Regions from separate parts of the Homo sapiens genome. Here regions 1, 2, 3, 4, 6 and 7 are each linked to region 5. The links are contacts of gene promoters, found by promoter capture Hi-C in blood cells and fetal thymus (Javierre and others, 2016). All regions are on one chromosome and are shown on one strand. The core of a region is centred on a gene start or on the middle of the fragment in contact, and the rest is flanking DNA. Distances in the headings are between cores, read along the strand shown.

Region 1 (2,706 bases), core at 99-2,598, 230 kb after region 5:
AACATTTGACAGAAATGTAGTTGGAATTCCATTGTTTTTCTTATACCATAATCTTTCTGTTGTGATGCCCTAAAATTCACCCTGTGATTTCATATCATGTCTTCTTAATATTGTGCCAGAAACCATAACATGTCTGACAATTAAAATATTAAGGAAATGGGCTGGCCATGGTAGCTCATGCCTGTAATCTTAGCACTTTCAGAGGCAGAGGCAGGCAGATCACTAGAGGCCAGGAATTCAAGACCAGCCTGACCAAAATGGCAAAATCCCATCTCTACTAGAAAATACAAAAGTTAACCAGGTGTGGTGGCATGTGCCTGTAATCTCAGCTGCTTGGGAGGCTGAGGCACAAGAATCGCTTGAATCCAGGAAGCAGAGGCTGCAGTGAGCCGAGATCGCACCACTGCACTCCAGCCTTGGTGATAGAGCAAGATTCTGTCTCCAGAAAAAAAAAAAAAAAGCAATATTAATGAAATAAAAATGAAATGAACCCTCTTTGTTAACAGAGGAATTACTTAATGGAGTGAAATCCTGATTCCACTCAATGCAATAAACATTTGCTAAGCTACTATTCTTCTATGTGACTATTTTTTCTGTGATTGTAAATGTAAAAACTTAAAGACAGAATTAAAAAAATCATAGAATGTAAGAGTTAGAATGGCCCTTAAATCAGGTTACCAGTCCACCCACTCCTCTAACATTGGGTGATCATTCAGCATACACTTCATACCCATGGGCACAGAGGTTCCTCAAGAAGTTCACCAGCTAGTAAATGGGATACCACATTTTAAAGGGTTTTTTAACATGAACTTTCATATTCTGCAACATATGACCTTGTTAAAAGCTCTGTCCAGGATGCAGGCAAGATATCTGCATTTTAAGAATAAGAAAGTAAAGCTCCAGTAAGGCTCAAACTTGACAAGGATTACACGGTCAATTTACACCAAGGACGGAACTCTCTTGTAGCTTGCTGCTTCCCTTCTTGCTCTTGATAATTGTCCTAGTCCAACTGGGCTGCTATGACAAAAATACTATTGGCTTACTTAAAAAATAAGCATTGATTTCTTGCAGTTCCAGACACTGGAAGTCCTAGATCGAAGTGCTAGGAGATTTACTGTCTAGTGAGGACCCACTTTCCGGTTCCATGGACCACTGTTTTCTCACTGTGTCCTCACATGGTGGAAGGGGCAAGGAAGGTCTTCCAGGTCACTTTTATACAAGCACTAATCCCATTCATGAAGGCTCCACAGGAAGAAAGAAGATGGGGGTAGAAGGAGGAAGACAAGAGGGAGAAGGAGGTGCGTAAAGAGAAAATAACTGAAGACTTTTAAAAGGAAATAGGATTACTAGACAAGTATAAGAGAATTAGTAATGGTTAAATACTGTATCTCCTTGTTCTCACACTACATTCTACTCTCAGTCTATACCCTTATACTACTGAGTCCTAGGAGAACTTAATGTGAATTTTCTCTAATTTTTAACTTTAATTTTTCACTAATTTCATAGTGAGGAGATTTGGAACATACAGAAAAGAAAGGTCATACCAGAAAAAAAAATGTAGCGCTTTCACTTCCAATTGGTTCTTAATTTTGTCTCAGGACTTGCCTTGAATTCTTTTCTCTTCCCTGGATAATTCTGGAACACTTAGTAATGGTTAGCTATTATATTCCTTATACCTATTTCTACATTCTACTCTTATTTCTACATTCTTTCCATCTAAAATCTAAAGAAACTTAAACAGAAATTTGTTCTCTTCTAAATGCTCAATTCATTACAAATGCTTGGAAACACGGAGATGAGATCAAATCAGATGAAAATTTATAGAGATTTTGCTTCAAGCTGAGTATTTGGCTTAGATACAAACTACTACCTTGAAACTTTCCACCGAAGAGTCACCCCACAGTTCTCATTTCTATGCTCAAGTAGCCAATGTCCTCACTCCTTGACATTACATAAACCCCTGACATGCCTCTGAAATTTTCTCCCATAAAGGTTGACTGTGTAATCCTAATTCTATCCCATGTGTGATGGTTAATTTTATGTATCAACTCGTCTGGACTAAGGGATGCCCAGATAACTGGTAAAACATGATTTCTGGGTGTGTCTGTGAGGATGTCTCTGGAGGAGGGTAGCATTTGAATCAGTAAACCAATTAAAGAAGACTGCCCTCACCAAATGGGTAGGCATAATGCAATCCTGTGGAGGATGTGAATAGAACCAAAAGGCAAAGCAAGTGCTACGTTTTGTTTGTCCCCACAAAAACTCATGTTGAAGTCTGATCCCTGATGTGGCCGTGTTGGGAGGAGGGACCTAGCAGGAGGTGTCAGGGTTACGGAGGCAGATCCCTCATGAATGGCTTGGTGTCATTCTTGCAGTAGTGAGTGAGTTCTCTCTCTCATGAGACTGAATTAGTTCCCTCAGTAATGGATCAGTTCCCTCGAGGCTGGGTTGCTATAAAGCCAGGACACCCCTCGGATTTTGCTTCTTCACACATGTCCACTTCCACTTTGACTTTCCACCATGTTGTGACACAGCAGGAAAGCCCTCCCCAGGAGTCCAGCAGATGCCAGCACCACGCTTCTTAAACTTCCCAGCCTGCGGAACTGTGAGCTAAATAAATGTCTTTTCTTTATAAATTACCCTGTCTCAGATATTCCACTATAGCAACACTAAATGGACTAAGACAGGAAATGAAAAGGAATTTCA
Region 2 (2,796 bases), core at 212-2,711, 160 kb before region 5:
TGTTCTAACAGGGTTTTTTTTGTGGACTCTTTAGATTTTTCTAAATAAATGTTCATGTCATCTGCATATAACGATAATTTGACTTCTTCCTTTCCAATATGGATGGCCTTTATTTCTTTCTCTGACCTCACTGCTCTGGCCAGGACTTCCAGTATTATGTTGAATAAAAATGGGCATCTCTTTTTCCAGATCTTAGCAAAAAGGCCTTCAATTTTTCCCCATTCAATATGCTATTGACTATGGGTTTGTCATATATGGCCTTTATTATTTGGAATTATGTTCCTTCTATTCTTAACGTTTGTTGAGGATTTTTATCATAAAGTGATGTTAAATTTTATCAAACGTTTTTTCAGCATCTATTGAAAAGATCTTATAGTTTTGTTCTTGGTTAGGTAAAGAGGATACATTACATTTATTAATTTGCATATGTTGAACTATCATATCCTAGGATGCATCCCACTTGATCATAGTGAATGGTCTTTTTAATGTGTTGCTGAATTCAGTTTGCTAATATTGTGTTGAGGACTTTTGTATCTGTGTTTATCAGTGATATTGGCCTGTAGTCTACTTTCTGTTGTGTGCTTGTCTGGTTTTGGTATTAGGGTGATGTTAGCTTTGTGGAATAAGTTTGAAAGTATTTCTTCCTCTTCAGTTTTTTTTTTTTTTGAAGAGTTAGAGTTGAATTGGTATCAGTTCTTTAAATGTTTGGTAGAATTTAGCAGTGAAGCCATCAGGTCCTGGGCTTTTCTTTAATGAGAGACTTTTTATTACGGCTTCAATCTTGTTGCTCCTTATTGGTTTGCTGAAGTTTTCTATTTCTTCGTGGCTTAATCTTGTCAGGTTGTATGTGTCCAGGCATTTATCTGTTTCTTCTAGTTTTCCCAATTTGTTGGCCTATACTTATAATAGTTTCTAATGATTCTTTTTATTTCTGTGGTCTCAGTTGTTATGTCGCCTTTCTTGTTTCTGATTGTATTCATTTGGGCCTTCTCTCTTTTTTGGTAGTCTATTTAAAGGTTTGTCAATATTGTTTATCTTTTCAGAAAACCAACTTTTCATTTTTAAGGCTGGGTTTAGTTTGTTCTTGCTTTTCTAGTTCCTTGAGGTGCATTAGTTCATTTGAAGTCTTTATATTTTTTGATGTAGGTATTTACTGCTATAAACTTCCCTCTCAGTACTGCTGTTGCTGTATCCCACAGATTTTGGTATGTCATATTTCCACTTTAATTTGTCTCATGAATTTTAAAAATTTCTTTCTTAATTTATTCATTGACCCTTTGGTCATTTAGGAGCATGTTGTTTAATTTCCATGTGTTTGTCTCATTTCAGAGAGGTTCTTCTTGTGATTGATTTCTAGTTTTATTTCATTGTGGTAAAAAAATACATGTGATATATTGCTCTTTTAAATTTGCTGAGACTTGTTTCCTGGCCTAAGATACGGTGCATTTTGGATGAACTTCCATATGCTAATGAAAATAATGTGTATTCTACAACAGCTGGGTGACACATTCTGTAAAAGTCATTTAGGTCTATTTGGTCTAGTGTAGTAGTTTAACTCTGCTGTTTCTTTGTTGATTTTTTTATCTAGATGATTAATCCATTATTGAGAGTGGAGTGTTAAAGTCCATGACTGTTACTTTATTGCAATCTATCTCTCCCTTCAGATTTACTAATGTTGCTTTTGTGTGCTTTAGTGTTGGATGCATATTTATAATTGTTATATTTTCCTGCTGAATTGACCCCTTATATTATTAATATAGTCACCTTCTCTATTAGGCAGAGTCTAAAGTCTTTGACTAATAATCTGTTTATCTAAGTATAATTATTCCCCCCATTTTTTGGTTTTTACTTGCATAGAATATATTTTTCTATCCCATTACTTTCAGCCTACATGTGTCTTCATAGGTGAGGTGGGTTTCTTCTAGGAAGCATATAGTTAGGTCTTGTTTCTTTATGTATTCATCCAGCCTATGTCTTTTAATTGGAGAACTGCATCTGTTTATACTCAGTGCTATTACTGATGGGTAAGGACTTACTGGTGTCATTTTGTTGCTTGTTTTCTGGTTGCTTTGTAACTCCGTTCTTCCTTTTTTACTGTCTTCCTTTGTGGTTAAGTGACTTCCTCTGGTAACATGTTTTAATTCATTGCTTTTTCTAATTTTAGCATATCTATTATAGGTTTTAACATGTAGGTTACCATGAGGCTTACAAAAAAATCTTGTAGACATAACAAGTCATTTTACAGAGATGACAACTTATCACAGATCACCCCAAAAAAGAAACAAGAGAGAACTTTAATCTTTATTTTAACTCCATTCTCTCCACATTTTTGTTTTCTCAATTTACACATTTTTGTATTGACTATCTCAACAGGTTTCTGTAGCTATTATTCTTTTTGATACTTTGTGCTTTAGGATTCATACTAAAGTTATGAGTGTATTGTACATCATAATTGCAGTATTAAAGTATTCTGGGGCTGTATCCGAACTTCAGTTTTACCAGTGGGTTTTATACTTTCAAATATTTTTGGTTTTTTTTGTTTGTTTGTTTTGCACATTAATCTTTTCTTTCAGAATGAAAAACTCTCTTTAGCATTTCTTGTAAGACAAGTCTGGTGGTGGTGAATTCTCTAAACTTTTGTCTGTCTGGCAAAGATTATCTCTCTTTCATATGTGAAGGATAGCGTTGTTGAAACAATACTCTTGGATGGCAGCAGGGGTGGGGTGGGGGTTGGGTTTTTTTTTTGATTCCCCTGGCAGCACTTTGAAAATGTATGTTTTCTGTTGAGAAGTCTGT
Region 3 (2,700 bases), core at 124-2,623, 210 kb after region 5:
ATCAAAACATACCACTAGAGAAAATCACTTAACCACAAAAAAAAGACAGCAAGAGAGGAAGAAAAGAATAAAGGATCTATAAAAGAACCATGAAACAATAAGCAAAATGGTAGTACAAAGTCCTTACTTATCAATAATTACCTTGAACATGAATGGATTAAATTATCCAATCAAAAAACACAGTGTCTGAGTGGATTAAAAAAACTAGATCCAACTATATGCTGCCCATGACAGACTCATTTCATCTGTAAAAATACACACAGACTGATGGTGAAGGAATGGAAAAAGATATTCCATGGAAACAGAAACCAAAGGAGAGCAGGAGTAACTTTACTTGTATCATATAAAACAAACTTTAAGTCAGAAGTTGTAAAGGAGAAACAAAGTTCCTATATAATGATAAAAGGGTCAATTCAATAAGAGGATATAATAGTAAGTTATATGAAGGTACTTTTACTCCACTCCTCCCATTTTAAATTTTCAGTGTCACAATTTATATATTTTATATTGCATATCCCTTAATAAGTTATGTAGCTATTGTTTTTTATAAATATATATGAACCCAACATCAGAGCACCTAAAGATAAATACCAAACATTGGCCAGGGGTGGTGGCTCACACCTGTAATCCCAGCACTTTGGGAGGCCAAGGCGGGTGGATCATGAAGTCAAGAGATCAAGACCATCCTGGCCAACATGGTGAAACCCCGTCTTTACTAAAAATACAAAAATTAGCTGGGCGTGGTGGCATGCGCCTGTAGTCCCAGCGACTCGGGAGGCTGAGGCAGGAGAATCGCTTGAACCGTGAGACGGGGGCTGCAGTGAGCCGAGACCCTGCCACTGCACTCCAGCCTGGTGACAGAGTGAGACTCCGTCTCAAAAACAACAACAACAACAACAACAACAAATAAAATAAAATAAAAACCATTAATACGTCTGAAAGGAGAGAGAGACTGCAATACAGCAATAGTAGGGGACTTCAACACCCTACCTTCAGCAATAGACAAATCATCTCAACAGAAAATCAGTAAGAAACATCAGACTTAAACTATACTCTAGAACAAATGGACAGATCAGACATAAAACATTTCACCTAATGGCAAGAGAATACACATTCTTCTCAACTGCACATGGAACATGCACCAGGGGATATCATATGTTAGGCCACAAAACAAGTCTTAACAAATTTAAGCAGAATGAAATCATATCAAGTTTCTTTTCCGACCACAATAATAAAAAACTAGAAATCAGGCCAGGCGCGGTGGCTCACGCCTGTAATCCTAGCACTCTGGGAGGCCGAGGCGGGCAGATCACGAGGCCAGGAGATCAAGACCATCCTGGCTAACACAGTGAAACCCCGTCTCTACTCAACATACAAAAAATTAGCCGGGCGTGGTGGCGGGTGCCTGTAGTCCCAGCTACTCGGGAGGCTGAGGCAGGAGAATGACGGGAACCCGGGAGGCGGAGCTTGCAGTGAGCCAAGATCGGGCCACAGCACTCAAGCTCGAGGACAGAGTGAGACTCCGTCTCAAAAAAAAAAACAACAACTAGAAATCAGTAACAGAGGTGCTTCAGCAAATTCACAAATACATGGAAATTAAACAACATGCTCCTGAATGATCAGTGGGTCAATGAAGAAACTGAAAGCAAAATTCAAAAATTTCCTGAGATGAAAAAAAATGGAAACACATAATACCAAAACCCATGGAACACAGTAAAAGCAATTTTAAGAGCAAAGTTTATGGCAGTAAATGCCTACATAAAAACAAAAAACCTCAAATAAACAACCAAAAAACCCCAATAGACATTTTTCAAAGACATACAAATGGCCAAAAAGTACAAAAAAAAAAAAAAAGCTCGATATCACTAATTACCACAGAAATGCAAATAAAAGCCACAATGAGATATCACCTCATACTACACTTAGAATGACTATTACCAAAGAGACAAAAGATAACAAGTGTTGGCAAGTATGTAGAGAAAAGGGAACTTTTGCACCCTGTTGGTGAGGAGTTAAACTAATACAGCCATTATGGAAAGCAGTATGGAGTTCCTTTAAAAATTAAATATAGAACTACCATATGATCCTGCAATCCCACCACTGTATGTATGTGTGTGTATACATATATATATACACATATATAAAATGAAATCAATATGTCAAAGAGCCATGTGCATTCCCATGTTCATTATAGCACTATTCACGATAGCCAAGATACGGAATCAACCTAAGTGTCCACCAATGCATGAAGAGAGAAAATGTGCTATATATATACAATAGAAAACTATTCGGCCATTAAAAAAAGAAGGAAATCCTGTTATCTGTAACAATATGAATGAAATAAGCCAGGTAAAGACAAATAAATACTGCATGATCTCACTCATGTGGAATCAGAAAAAGTTAATCTCATAGAAGCAGAGAGCAGAATACTTTGGGAGTCGGGTATGGTTTGTGTTAAAGGACACACAATTTCAGCTTGACATGAGGAATAAGTTCAAGAGCTCCACTATACAACATGAAGACTACAATTAATAATAATATATTATATTCTTGAAAAATACTAAGAGAATGGATGTAAAGTGTTCTCACCACAGAAATCATTAAGTATGAGATGTATCATGTTAATTAGCTAGACTTAGTCACTCCACAATGTACATATACTTCAAAACATCATGTTGTACATGATAAATACATGTAATT
Region 4 (2,700 bases), core at 113-2,612, 190 kb after region 5:
AAAGAGGAAGATGTTGGAGTGGAAAGCAGTCAGTACAGAGATGGCAGCTGAAACCACAAGAACACTACCCCACACTATTACACTGTCAATGATACAATGACACTACTATGGTAATGACAACCCACAGAGAACACAGGTTTACCCCATACTGATGATGTGTTTGACAGAGCTACATACCAGGTTGAAAAGATCTTTTTCTTAGTTTCCTAAAGTACTAGCTATTCAAGGAACAAAATCTATCTGAATCTAAAAGTGACCTAGTTACATACTCTGGGAAATTTGAGAATATATACAGCCTATTTACCCCGAAGTAATTTACAATCCACTGGGAAAACAATGGGTTTTCCATCATCCAATGAAAAATGGGATATTCTGCAATTCAGCACTCGAGGGAGGCTGGACAGGGGAGGAACTGGCTTTGATTGAGATGCTTAGTATATGCTTGTCACAGGAAGGTGGCTTTTAGAGAGCCCCGAGGGATGAATGGACCTTCAGCAGGAGGAGAGAAAACAGCACCATAGGTCCAGAGCCCATAAGAACACTACACCACACTGTGTAGACAGCTTTCTCTTCATGTCTAAGAAAGTTAGTGTGCAGAAATCACAATACTATAAAGAGGTCTCAGGAAGGAGCTTGGGTGGACAGAAGCAGAGGATGCCTGTTGGTGGTATCCAAGGTAAGAATCTGACAAATGGCATAAAGCAAAATGTGCATATTTGCTTGCAATACCCATGGACTTTTTCAAAAATACCAAACTTCTTGCATACTGAAATAACTGCATTGAGTATTTATTTATTTTAGGCTGTGGCTTTCCTATCATAAAATCCAAGTATGTGGTCAGAATAACCTAAGGGTATCTCAAACATTAGCCCTTAATAATCATGATTTGAATCTTCAAACCTTCATATAAGGAAAATAGCCTTCCCAAGGATAGGTTCTAATTAAAATCCTGGAGACTAGATTTTCTTTAATTTTTTTTTTTTTTTTGCTTCTCTATTTCCTAGGCAAAGAAAAGGATACCACTGGACTTCGTAAACTTCTCAAGAGTATTCTCTTGCTCAAGAACAAAACACTCTCCAGAATAATCTAAAATCTACATGGAATAATACAAAAACTATGGGGGGGGAGTTGAATTTCAAGGCCCTTACAGTCCTTGATAAACAATGATGGAATAAATAATGGAAAACATAATCTGTGGCTGCTCAACTAGACAGTTCTGCTAATGACCATAAAGAGAACCCAAACTCTAAAACTTACCTCTGTATTTCCCCTTTACATTGAGTTAGGCTGAAGCAATAGCTCAAATAATCCAAGTTAACAAAAGCCGACAGAGAAGTGATTCAGAGGTAAATGCATTTGTTCATTCATTGACTCATTCAACACTCGCTTGAAACTTATCACATGCCAAGCTCTGTCTAGGTGCTGGAGTACATGGGGAAGAAGCCACGCCCCTGCCTTCATGGAGGTGTCACTCCAAACTCAGCTCAATTTTACAGCAACGTCAAATTACACAAAGGACTTCAACTTATAGTTTTCCTTCCAGAGGTTAGATTGTGACACTTTCATAAAACTTATGTTAGTGTGCTGCTTCTGCTCAGGATTCAGAATGAATAAACTAAAATTCTACCCTTCCTTTAAGAACTACTTAGAAAAAAAAAACTTTATAAATAATATGATGAATTAAGAATCCCATAACTTGGTCATGAGAAATCTCTGATTTTATTTAGTCTAATCTCCTATAAGTGATCCTCCTTATGGAGTATATGTGAAAGATTATCATGTATTAAAACAAGAATCCCAAAAGCATTATACATTAACATTTATTGAATCCGTTTACTAACTCCTCTTTGTTAATAAATTCCACGGGTGATAACAATTACCTGTTCATATGCCCAGAATTTAACAGCTGTCTCAGGAGCAATTTTGATGACGTTTGTACCATTTCCCCTCCAAAGCGAGCGGATACCTCCTTCTTTTACCATCTGTCGAAAGCCACCAAATATGTTCATTTTGTCTGATTTTGAACCGTGAACCTAAAAATAAAAGCAGAATGATATAAAATGCTGGTGGCATATTACTATTACTTTTTCTAGAACAACCACACAATCTTTTTCAATACCCTTTCTAACTGCAAGAAGATATATTTGAAAATAAAATATAGAAAGGTTGAAAAATATATATAATGATGAGAGGGAGTATTGCCATGATTTTAGAGGCCTGTCTCTGACTCTAAAACTAAGAATAATTGGTATCTTCAGTGTGAGAAAGCAGAGAGAGAAGACAAGAAGAGTATTAAAATTATGAACAACCTTCATAAGATAATATTAACTAAATTATGTATCAGGCAATGGAACACCCTTTGAAACATGAACAGGCTCAGTTAAAGGGAAATAAAAAAGTATACTGCAGATAATAATATTATATTATTACATATAATTTAATGTATGTATATTATTACATATAATTTAAAGTAATATGTTACTCCCTCTCCTCAAGAAGTAGTACAGACATGAACTGTAAATGGGTCTGAAATGGTTTGGATATTGTGTATATCAGGGCTACCAACACTGGAATGCATACAGCCTGAAACCAAAAATAAAAATTGCACCCTCTTTGGCATATTTTGAGGCCCTCTCTAGGCAATAAATTCATTACAACATGTACCCATCCTGTGAGTACTGATAAATTACTTGGCTTATA
Region 5 (2,787 bases), core at 183-2,682:
ATTAAATTACATCTAACATAAGAGGAGAAGAGTGAAACACATTCAAAACGATTCTCATCCATTGTTAGCATTCAAATAAAGGCTTCGAGGTTTAAAAAGGTCTTCAGCTGTCCAGAAAACGTGATTATTGAGAGCAACTGCTGAGAGTTCCAGGAAACAAGTTCCAGGAAATGTGCACAGTACTGTACTCCCTACTGGTGGGCCAAGGCATCCTGACCCACGCTGCCTCCTGAGGCTACAGGCAAAGTGGAAAATGGGGATGTGTGAGAGTAGCTAACTGCAGCTCCCACCATAATAGAAAAGTCTGCCAAACCCCTCAAAGGAATTTCCAGAGTTGAGACAACTCTGAAGGGGTACCGAGAGGTAGCAATCACCATGCATGTTTATGGGGGTATAAAATAATTTACCTCACTTTTAAATACGTATGGCTCTCCCCACTTCCATGCCTGTTCTTTCTTAGGGACTGCCCACCAGCAGGTTGAAGGCAAACAGGCAAGGAATGCAGAATCTGAAGTGCAGGGGACCCTGATGAAACACTGACACCAAGAATCACAGATGACTGTGTGTGCTCTAACTTTAAATACATACTTATTAAATCATATAAAGTCCGTTCCTTCTTAAAAGGCGCTGCTCTGGTTGCTAAGTAGCTGAGGCTCTGCGTCATAGAGGATTAGTGCTGAAATGTGTCAGGGAGAGGGCTCTGTCCTCTCCCTTTTAAGTTGAAAGCAGTTTGGTTTTTTGTTTTGTTTTAACATTCTGAAAGAGAAAGAGGCTCTGAACCGAGTTTAACATCCTTCTGTACAAAAATTTTCCGACAGGACAAATAAACTACTCTTCCACTGAACTGTGACTTTTGAGCTGACTCTAGGGTGCACCCAACCTTCCAGAGGTGTCTGGCTTAACCCTCAAAGAGGCAGCTCCAGCCCCAGGAGCCGACCGGCACCACAGCACCTGAGCAGGGCACTGCAGGAAGGAAAGCGGAATCTCTAGTGAAACTTCTCATTTCCTGTCGCTGCTGAGAGAGGCTGGACTCGCTCCTTCTCACATGGCTTAGGAAGAGCTGTAAACGGGAGCTTGCCGGCTGGCCACCAGCTCAGGGGCCCTGGGGGCGGCCTCCGGGTTCTGCTCCCTGTTCTTCCCTTTGACCAATGTCACTCCTGGACAGATAACGGGACCAAACGCCCTTCACTTCCTCGAGTCCTCATGTATGTCATGGTTCCTCTTTTAGGAAAACATGAGTACAAGACGCAAAGCAAAAGAAGAGACTAAAGGCAAATTACCCCATCACCTCGTTTCGTCCCTCCCCTTCGTTATTATAGAAGAGCTTGATCAAATTCCCTTTGTCGCGCCACACACACGCAGAGTAGGTGAAGGGCACCCTAAGACAACTTATTTCTTTCCCGCCTCACAGAAAGCCTTTACGAAATCCTCACACCATCTCCGGACGCAAAGCTTTCGCATTCAGCTTGAGGAGCTAAACCATTTCAAGCCAAGGTAGGAAACGCCAAAGTGGTGCCGAAGTGGTCCCAAAGCAGAAGGCTGGGAAGCAGGGCAAGCTCAGCGCACCTAGACGTTTGCATTTACACAAAGAAATTAGCCGCATGATTAATGGGAGCTGCCGGCTGGAGGCGGGGCGCCCGTGCCGGCCTCCTCACCTGGGACATCTGCGGCCTCAGGTTGATCTCCTTCAGGTTGATGGAGTGCGCCCGGAGGTTGTTAAGCAGCTGGCAGAGCAGGACTCCATCGCGGAGGGTCTGCGCAAGGTCGAACACCTGAGCCGAGTCCCAGGTCACCCGGTGGTTGGTGGGCAGCACCTTGCAATGGATGAGCCACTGCGCGCACTGCTTCCACGGCTCCATGCCCGACGGCTCCGGGACGCGGCTGGGCCGGGGCGGGCGGCAAGGATGCGGCCGCCGCCGCCGCCGCCGCGGTTCCTCCGCGCCCCGCCGACGCCAACAGCCGCCGGCCCTTTCCCCGCGCGGGATCGAGGGAGCAGGAGCCGCGGCTGACGGGTCGCGGGCGCCGCGCTAGGCTCGGCTCCGGTCCCGGCCCGGGTGCGCCGCGACCCGGCCGCCGCTGCAGCGAGTCCCGCGCGCTCTCCGTGCGCCCCGGCCGGCTCGGCGGCGGCTGCCGCGCACAGGCTTCCGACTCCAGCGCCCGGCCCGCCACTGAGCATGCCCAGCACGCCGGCCGGTCTCGCTGCGGTCCGCAAGTCCCCAGACGCGCGGGTGGGAGCGCGCCGGCGGCCGGGGCTGGGGTCTGTGGCCGAGGGCGGGGCGCGGGGGAGGGGCCGGCGGAGGGGGGCGGCGGCCAGAAAGGGGATCCCGCGCCCCCGCCTGCAGCCTTGCGGGGCTCACGCAGCCCCCGGCGTCCTGGGGTCTTCTCTCGGGGCGGCTTCCCGGCTTTGCGGGGAGTGTGGCTGAATACTGTAATACGATGGGGTCCCCCAGGACCCCCTAAACAACAAATGCTCAAAGGAGCGACGGATTAATTGGGGCACCCAGACTCCCCAGAGCAATGAAAAAAGTGCCTAGAGCATCAGTAGAGCACGGCGCTGAAAGTTTTAGAGATCGTCGCCCCCTCGCCCCTTGCAGCTCTATCCCCTCCATTCTCTATAGCTGATTCCTCAGCCTATTCCTCCTAGTTGCCCCTAGTGGTGTTTTGGCACCCTCAAAGTGAGTGAGAGTGCGTGTGTGGAGACGCCTGCGGAAACCGCCCCGATCCCTGAGCCTATTTCCTCGCGAGGTGATTTTCACTTGGAGCTGGTTTGCCCCTGCACTGTCAGGC
Region 6 (2,700 bases), core at 66-2,565, 170 kb after region 5:
AGTTTGGGGTGATGCCTCTGTAAAGTCCTGGTATTCCTTCTTTGGAAATAATTCGTCGAAAGAGGCCAACCATATTCAGCTGTGGGGAACCTTCTAACATGGCTAAAAAATAAAAAAAGAGGGTAATTTAATATTCAAGTATGTTTCATTATTATGACAACAAACAATTATGACCCAGAATGATATTCTAAAATACAGTAAAAGGACAACATTTATTCCAAGAAGCCCAAGACAACATCCCTTTTATGATCCTCTTTGTATAGCACCTAACAGTGAGTGTCCTAACTATAGTAATGATGGTAATAATAGTTATTTATTAATTACTATGTTCTAAATACTGGGTTAATTACCTTCCATACCAATCTTGCAAGGTAAATGTTATATCAATTTTGTAAGTGAGCAATTGGAGGCTTAGAAAGATGGAGAAATTTGTCCTAAAAAAATCTAAGTAGAAAATGGTAGGGCTGAGATCCAATGGTCTGACTCTAAAGCTGGTACACTTTCCACCACCCCACAGTGCTGCTGCTGCCTCCTTCTTACTAGACAAGCGCTGAAGAGAGAACAGTTAAATCTCAGGAAGTAAGGGGAGTATGGAAGAAGCTCTGGGAAGCTTGGGAAAAAGCACAAAGACCTGGGCCTTGGAAATGACCTCAACAAGCAGGAAGAGAAAGCGAAAACCAGTGTTGCTGGCACAACCAAGACAACGGGAGGAGTACCATGTGCTATGGAGATGCAGCCAATTGTTGTATGTGGTTATTACACAGAGAGTGAACAAAGTGGGGCTAGATTATTAAAGGCTTTGAAATTCCCACTAACAACTTTGGAACTGACACCGAAAGGCTGCAAAGATGTCTGAACAGATGTAAAATGATCAGACTTTTAGGTCAGAAATGACAGTCTATCAGCCATAGACAATCTATCAGCCGTATCAGTCATGCAAAGTTCTGGATCAGAGCTGGCAGACAGGAGGGTTAGAATCAGACTGCATGTGTCTGAATTTCAGTCCCACTATTTACCACAGGTATAATCTTGTGGGAGTTACTTAAATTCTCTCTGCCCCAGTTGCTCATCTGAAAAATGGGGATAATGTTAGTATTCCCATCCCCAAGATGGTTATGATGGTGAAATGAGAGAATACACAAGAAACGTGTAGTTCACTACTTTGTGTTTTTCTCTACAGCCATGACTGTCTCTCAGCTCCTTAAATACACCATGTTGGTGCCTGCCTCAGTGTCTTCACACATGCTTTCCCTCAACTGGAATGTTTTCTGTTCCCACTCCACTGGCCTGTGCCCAGCTAACTCCCACTCATCTTTCCAGTCTCAGCTTCACTGACAGCATTCTGCAGCGCCCAAGTTAGGTTATAGCTCCTTGCTCTGTGCTCCCCTAACAAAAGAGGAGTTGGTTTAACCAGGTTGTTTACTTGCTGGACATAACGTCTTCTCTACTCTACACTGGCGGGGCCACACCTGACTTGTTGACTGCTCTACCCCTAGCATCTGGCAGTGTCTAGAATGGGACAATGGCTCAGGGAGTATTTGCCAATTAGTTACTGACTGCTTGGCTGGGGTTGCTGTGGCTGGCACTTGGAAGGGAGGTTGGGAATAGAGCTGTAGATGCCCAAGGTGTACTACTTAAGAAAACAATGGATAAGACTGACCAGGGAAAGCATCAAAGAGAAAAGAAAGGCATTTGAATGCATACTTTAATAGAGTGGGGATAGCAATAAAAGCCAGCAAATGGTAAAAGTTATCAATGGGCTGGCAGAACAACCAGGATGGTACAGTGTAATCAAAGCCAACAATGGAGACTGTCACAGTGAGGAGGAATCACAGCTCAAAACTTGTAGGGTCTACGCAACACTAAAAAATGATTCCAACCACCATTTACCAAAAATTTAACAAACCCAAGATGCTTTATTTATATTGTTGGTAATTCTTACAACACTGTACAATTTTCATTCCCATTAAAAACCCCAAGAAGTCTGAGGCAAGGATCTGAACCCAAATCCATCAGATACTAAAGCTTATAATCTTAAAACGTGCATGTAACACAGTCAAAAAAAATAGTACTCTGTTTATCTATAAGGCATATGTATGCATACAGTACATATGCAATGCTTCTGTCGCATTAAAATTTCATGACGAGGGAGCATTTAGAAAAAGAATTTCTGAAAAGATTCCTTAAGGAGGCAATAATGAAAAAAAGGTTGAGAAATACTGTCTTAAAACTACAGTCTGCATCTTAGTAGAACTTGGAGTTCTAAAAGCACATTACTGGTGCAGCACTTTTATCGGTGTGGTTCTGTAATCAAAAATTCACCTTGAGCCTGCATGCGAGTTCTCACCAAAGCCAATGGGTAGCTGGCCAGCTGACCACAGGTGCTGGATAAGGCACCGCATCCCAGCAACACCATGACTCCAGGGTTTACAGAATCTTTTGCAAAATTATCCAGCCAATAGGACTTCAAGAGCTGCCAGAGAAATAAAGAAGAAAATAATTAACGAACTCTACAACTTCAACGTAAACATTTTCACAGCTATTCTCAACCTCATGAGAAGCCCCGTTTCTGCAGGATGAGGCCACGCATTTGCAGAAGCAGCAGGCACTGCAGGAGGCGGTGACTCTGTGGAGAGGTGGGAGGCCACTGGGGGTGCGGAACACATGAGGTTTGCACCGGTTACTGACATTCTTCTAAAC
Region 7 (2,700 bases), core at 118-2,617, 220 kb before region 5:
AGACTCTCAGCACAGCCCAGAGGCAACTGATGGTGCCGGCATGGATTCTGCACCCATAAACAAATTCTTCACATTAAAAACTGGTCATGCAAGCATTTTAAGGAGGAAGAATGTGAGGTTTTTAGAGAAAATAATTTCTCAACAAAAAACAATCCAAAAGGGCTGACAAATATACAGACAGTTTATAGACATATTTTGGCCATTATGCCAGTAAGGCCTCCAGTTTCCAAACAGACACTGACGGGCTTTGGACACTAAGAAAATGCCAAAGCAGGTGACAAAATGTCATCCCCACATCCAGCTCATCCAGGAAGGCTCCCCCTCTGGCCAACTCTTGATACCACCACAGGCTTCCTCTACCCCTTCTGGTTTTCCTTAGTATGCCCTCCAGGGAGGAAATTTCAGAGTAAATAACAGGCACAAATGGTATTGCTGCTGGGAAGAAAATGCATCAAGAGCACAAAGAGCATCACTGATTAAACAATGCTTCTTGGCTGGGCATGGTGGCTCACGCCTGAAATCCCACCACTTTGGGAGGCCAAGATGTGCGGATCACCTGAGGTCAGAAGTTTGAGACCAGCCTGGCCAACATGGCAAAACCCTGTCTCTACTAAAAATACAAAAATTACCTGGGTGTGGTGTTGCGTGCCTATAATCACAGCTACTCAGGAGGCTGAGGCAGGAGAATCACTTGAACCCAGGAGGTGGAGGTTGCACTGAGCTGAGATCGCGCCACTGTACTCTAGGCTGGGCGACAGAGCAAGACTCCATCTCAAAAAAAAAAAAAAATGCTTCTTGTTGATATGGCTGACTACTGAATAGAGAAAAAGTTACTACATGGCTGCTACTGGCCTGGACTCCGTGGGACCTGTCCTTTTCAATAAACCATGTGATAAAACTTAATGAAACTAGAAATTGAATAGATACAGTCTGTTCTGTGAGCAGACATTTTTAATATTCAATTAGACAGTAAAATAATAATGACAAATATAGATAATTCATCCAGGTTTATAGTTTTTTTTGGTGGAGTTAAAAAACATTTTGGAGCTAAATCATCATGATAGCCTAAGCAGGAATCACTGATACTAAAAATAAAAGAAAAAAAAAATCACACTTCTACAAAAGGCCACAGCGTGGTTTCATTATAGCTGAGATCATTTTGTGGTAACATATATTAACTAATTCTCTAGGCCTAAGTCATCTTATTTGTGCTGTAGGACAGGGGTCACTAACTACAGCCCACGGGCCAAATACAACCACTAGTGTTTTACTGGAACATACCACACTCATTCATTTATGTGAATCTATGGCTGCATTCGTAGTTAACTATGACAGAATTGAGTAGCTCTGACAGATACCATATGGCCCACAAAGCCTAAACCATTTACTCTCTGGCCCCCTACAACAAAATGTTGCTGGCCCTTGTTCTAAGAGACGAAATTTGTTGTCTCAACAGAAACTTATTTAAACATTTGAGAAGATCCAAACAAACCTCCTGATGAAGAAAATGAAAAAGAGGAGAGAGGAGGGGACAGGAAGGGAAGAGAGGACTAGCAGTACTCATAGCGGTAGTAGTTGCTGTTTCTTAGGCCTGCTTTAGAACTCCGACAGCTTCATGCAGATACTGTAGGCATCTCCATCTGGGCAAAAATATTAACAAAGTGAATCTTTTAAATTTTCACATTTGAATGTCAAATTTGTTGCCAAACCTTTAATAATAGAAACATGGGTCTTTCAAAAATTAACAACAAAGACCAATTTCTTTTGAAACACTCACTGGAGAGCTTAATTTTGAATTGCTGGGTAACATGACATGGCTTTATTCCTCTAAATCCCAGGATGGGTGTGGGAGGCACTCTGTCCGGCCTGACTAGCCGCTCCCTGAAGGGGTGGTGAGGCAAGGGGTGCTGGTCCTCTGCAGGGAGCAGTGCAGGGTGGGGAGGGTCATGCTCCAGGTGCTGCTGAGGGTGTCAAAGACCAGTGAAACAGCCGAGGGAACACATGCATGACATAAGCCCCACTGTGACGCCTGTTGGCATTACAAAAAATAGACTGTGAATGGATTTCAGGTGGAAAATGGAAAAGGCATAGATCCTTTCTCCTGGGTCTGACAGGTGGGAAAATTAAAAAAATATATACACACACACAAAAACCAAAAAAGCCACAGTGAATCAAGAACATGGACAGAGAGAGAAATATGAGAATGTAGGTGGGCCTTGAGCACCTCAGACCCTAAAACTGGAATCTGGGCTAACCTCTGTCTACATCTCCAAGGAGCAAGGAGGCCCCAAATACCATATGACTTGCATATTTTCTACAATTTTCAATATACAAATGAGTGAGATCAGTGCTACTTAAATGACAGGCTAGATAAAATGAGAATTGCCCATCCTGCTTGGTTCCAAAAATTTTATCCAAGCAAGCCAGACTACTAGAAAGAAACATCTGGAAGGGCTAGCATCAGGTTAGGTGTCTATAAAAATGCCTTAGCAAAACTGCAATTACATAGTTGAAGGCTTACATAAAAGAGAAATACTCATCTATGGCATCAACTTCAAGAATATCAAAAAATCTAATGCTGCTGGTAGAGAACATGTTTTTCAATGTCTCCTACCTAAGGATCCACACTATATAGCCTTCTTACCATACAGGAAAAACTCTCTCCTCCAAAGGGCTGTTGTAATATTTTGCCACACAATA

What was found. The method cuts DNA at HindIII sites, captures the fragments that hold promoters and counts their contacts. A CHiCAGO score of 5 or more calls a contact.
Region 1: a fragment that was not itself captured here is called in contact with the fragment with the promoter of VAV3-AS1 in region 5 in 9 of 17 cell types (M0 macrophages, M1 macrophages, activated CD4 T cells and 6 more); the score reaches 7.4 in M0 macrophages.
Region 2: a contact is called between a fragment that was not itself captured here and the fragment with the promoter of VAV3-AS1 in region 5, in 16 of 17 cell types (total B cells, naive B cells, total CD8 T cells and 13 more). The highest score is 17.5, in total B cells.
Region 3: a contact is called between a fragment that was not itself captured here and the fragment with the promoter of VAV3-AS1 in region 5, in 1 of 17 cell types (M1 macrophages). The highest score is 5.4, in M1 macrophages.
Region 4: a contact is called between a fragment that was not itself captured here and the fragment with the promoter of VAV3-AS1 in region 5, in 3 of 17 cell types (monocytes, M1 macrophages and non-activated CD4 T cells). The highest score is 6.3, in monocytes.
Region 6: a contact is called between a fragment that was not itself captured here and the fragment with the promoter of VAV3-AS1 in region 5, in 13 of 17 cell types (megakaryocytes, monocytes, M0 macrophages and 10 more). The highest score is 10.8, in megakaryocytes.
Region 7: a fragment that was not itself captured here is called in contact with the fragment with the promoter of VAV3-AS1 in region 5 in 3 of 17 cell types (naive B cells, monocytes and total B cells); the score reaches 6.7 in naive B cells.

Annotation. Positions count from the first base shown.
Region 1 is chr1:108,195,558-108,198,263 of GRCh38, forward strand. The region is part of intron 1 of SLC25A24 (solute carrier family 25 member 24); the gene reads right to left. Among named protein-coding and RNA genes, the nearest start is that of SLC25A24, 3.4 kb to the right of the region's middle. The HindIII fragment of the contact is 3,460 bases long and covers 1-2,706 here.
Region 2 is chr1:107,802,232-107,805,027 of GRCh38, forward strand. The region is part of intron 2 of VAV3 (vav guanine nucleotide exchange factor 3); the gene reads right to left. Among named protein-coding and RNA genes, the nearest start is that of MIR7852, 94 kb to the right of the region's middle. The HindIII fragment of the contact is 8,884 bases long and covers 1-2,796 here.
Region 3 is chr1:108,177,284-108,179,983 of GRCh38, forward strand. All of the region lies in intron 3 of SLC25A24 (solute carrier family 25 member 24), which reads right to left. Among named protein-coding and RNA genes, the nearest start is that of SLC25A24, 22 kb to the right of the region's middle. The HindIII fragment of the contact is 4,417 bases long and covers 1-2,700 here.
Region 4 is chr1:108,153,103-108,155,802 of GRCh38, forward strand. SLC25A24 (solute carrier family 25 member 24) reads right to left here. Exons shown (of 10, transcript NM_013386.5): 6 at 1,881-2,033. Among named protein-coding and RNA genes, the nearest start is that of SLC25A24, 46 kb to the right of the region's middle. The HindIII fragment of the contact is 3,573 bases long and covers 1-2,700 here.
Region 5 is chr1:107,963,011-107,965,797 of GRCh38, forward strand. It overlaps VAV3-AS1 (VAV3 antisense RNA 1), which reads left to right and starts at 1,433. Exons shown (of 3, transcript NR_046653.1): 1 at 1,433-1,494. VAV3 (vav guanine nucleotide exchange factor 3) reads right to left here and starts at 2,170. Exons shown (of 27, transcript NM_006113.5): 1 at 1,656-2,170. The coding sequence starts at 1,859. RefSeq lists enhancers at 1,181-1,310, 2,657-2,787. The HindIII fragment of the contact is 9,456 bases long and covers 1-1,450 here.
Region 6 is chr1:108,136,736-108,139,435 of GRCh38, forward strand. It overlaps SLC25A24 (solute carrier family 25 member 24), which reads right to left. Exons shown (of 10, transcript NM_013386.5): 9 at 2,323-2,473; 10 at 1-102. Among named protein-coding and RNA genes, the nearest start is that of SLC25A24, 62 kb to the right of the region's middle. The HindIII fragment of the contact is 1,415 bases long and covers 609-2,023 here.
Region 7 is chr1:107,739,513-107,742,212 of GRCh38, forward strand. The region is part of intron 15 of VAV3 (vav guanine nucleotide exchange factor 3); the gene reads right to left. Among named protein-coding and RNA genes, the nearest start is that of MIR7852, 160 kb to the right of the region's middle. The HindIII fragment of the contact is 4,265 bases long and covers 1-2,700 here.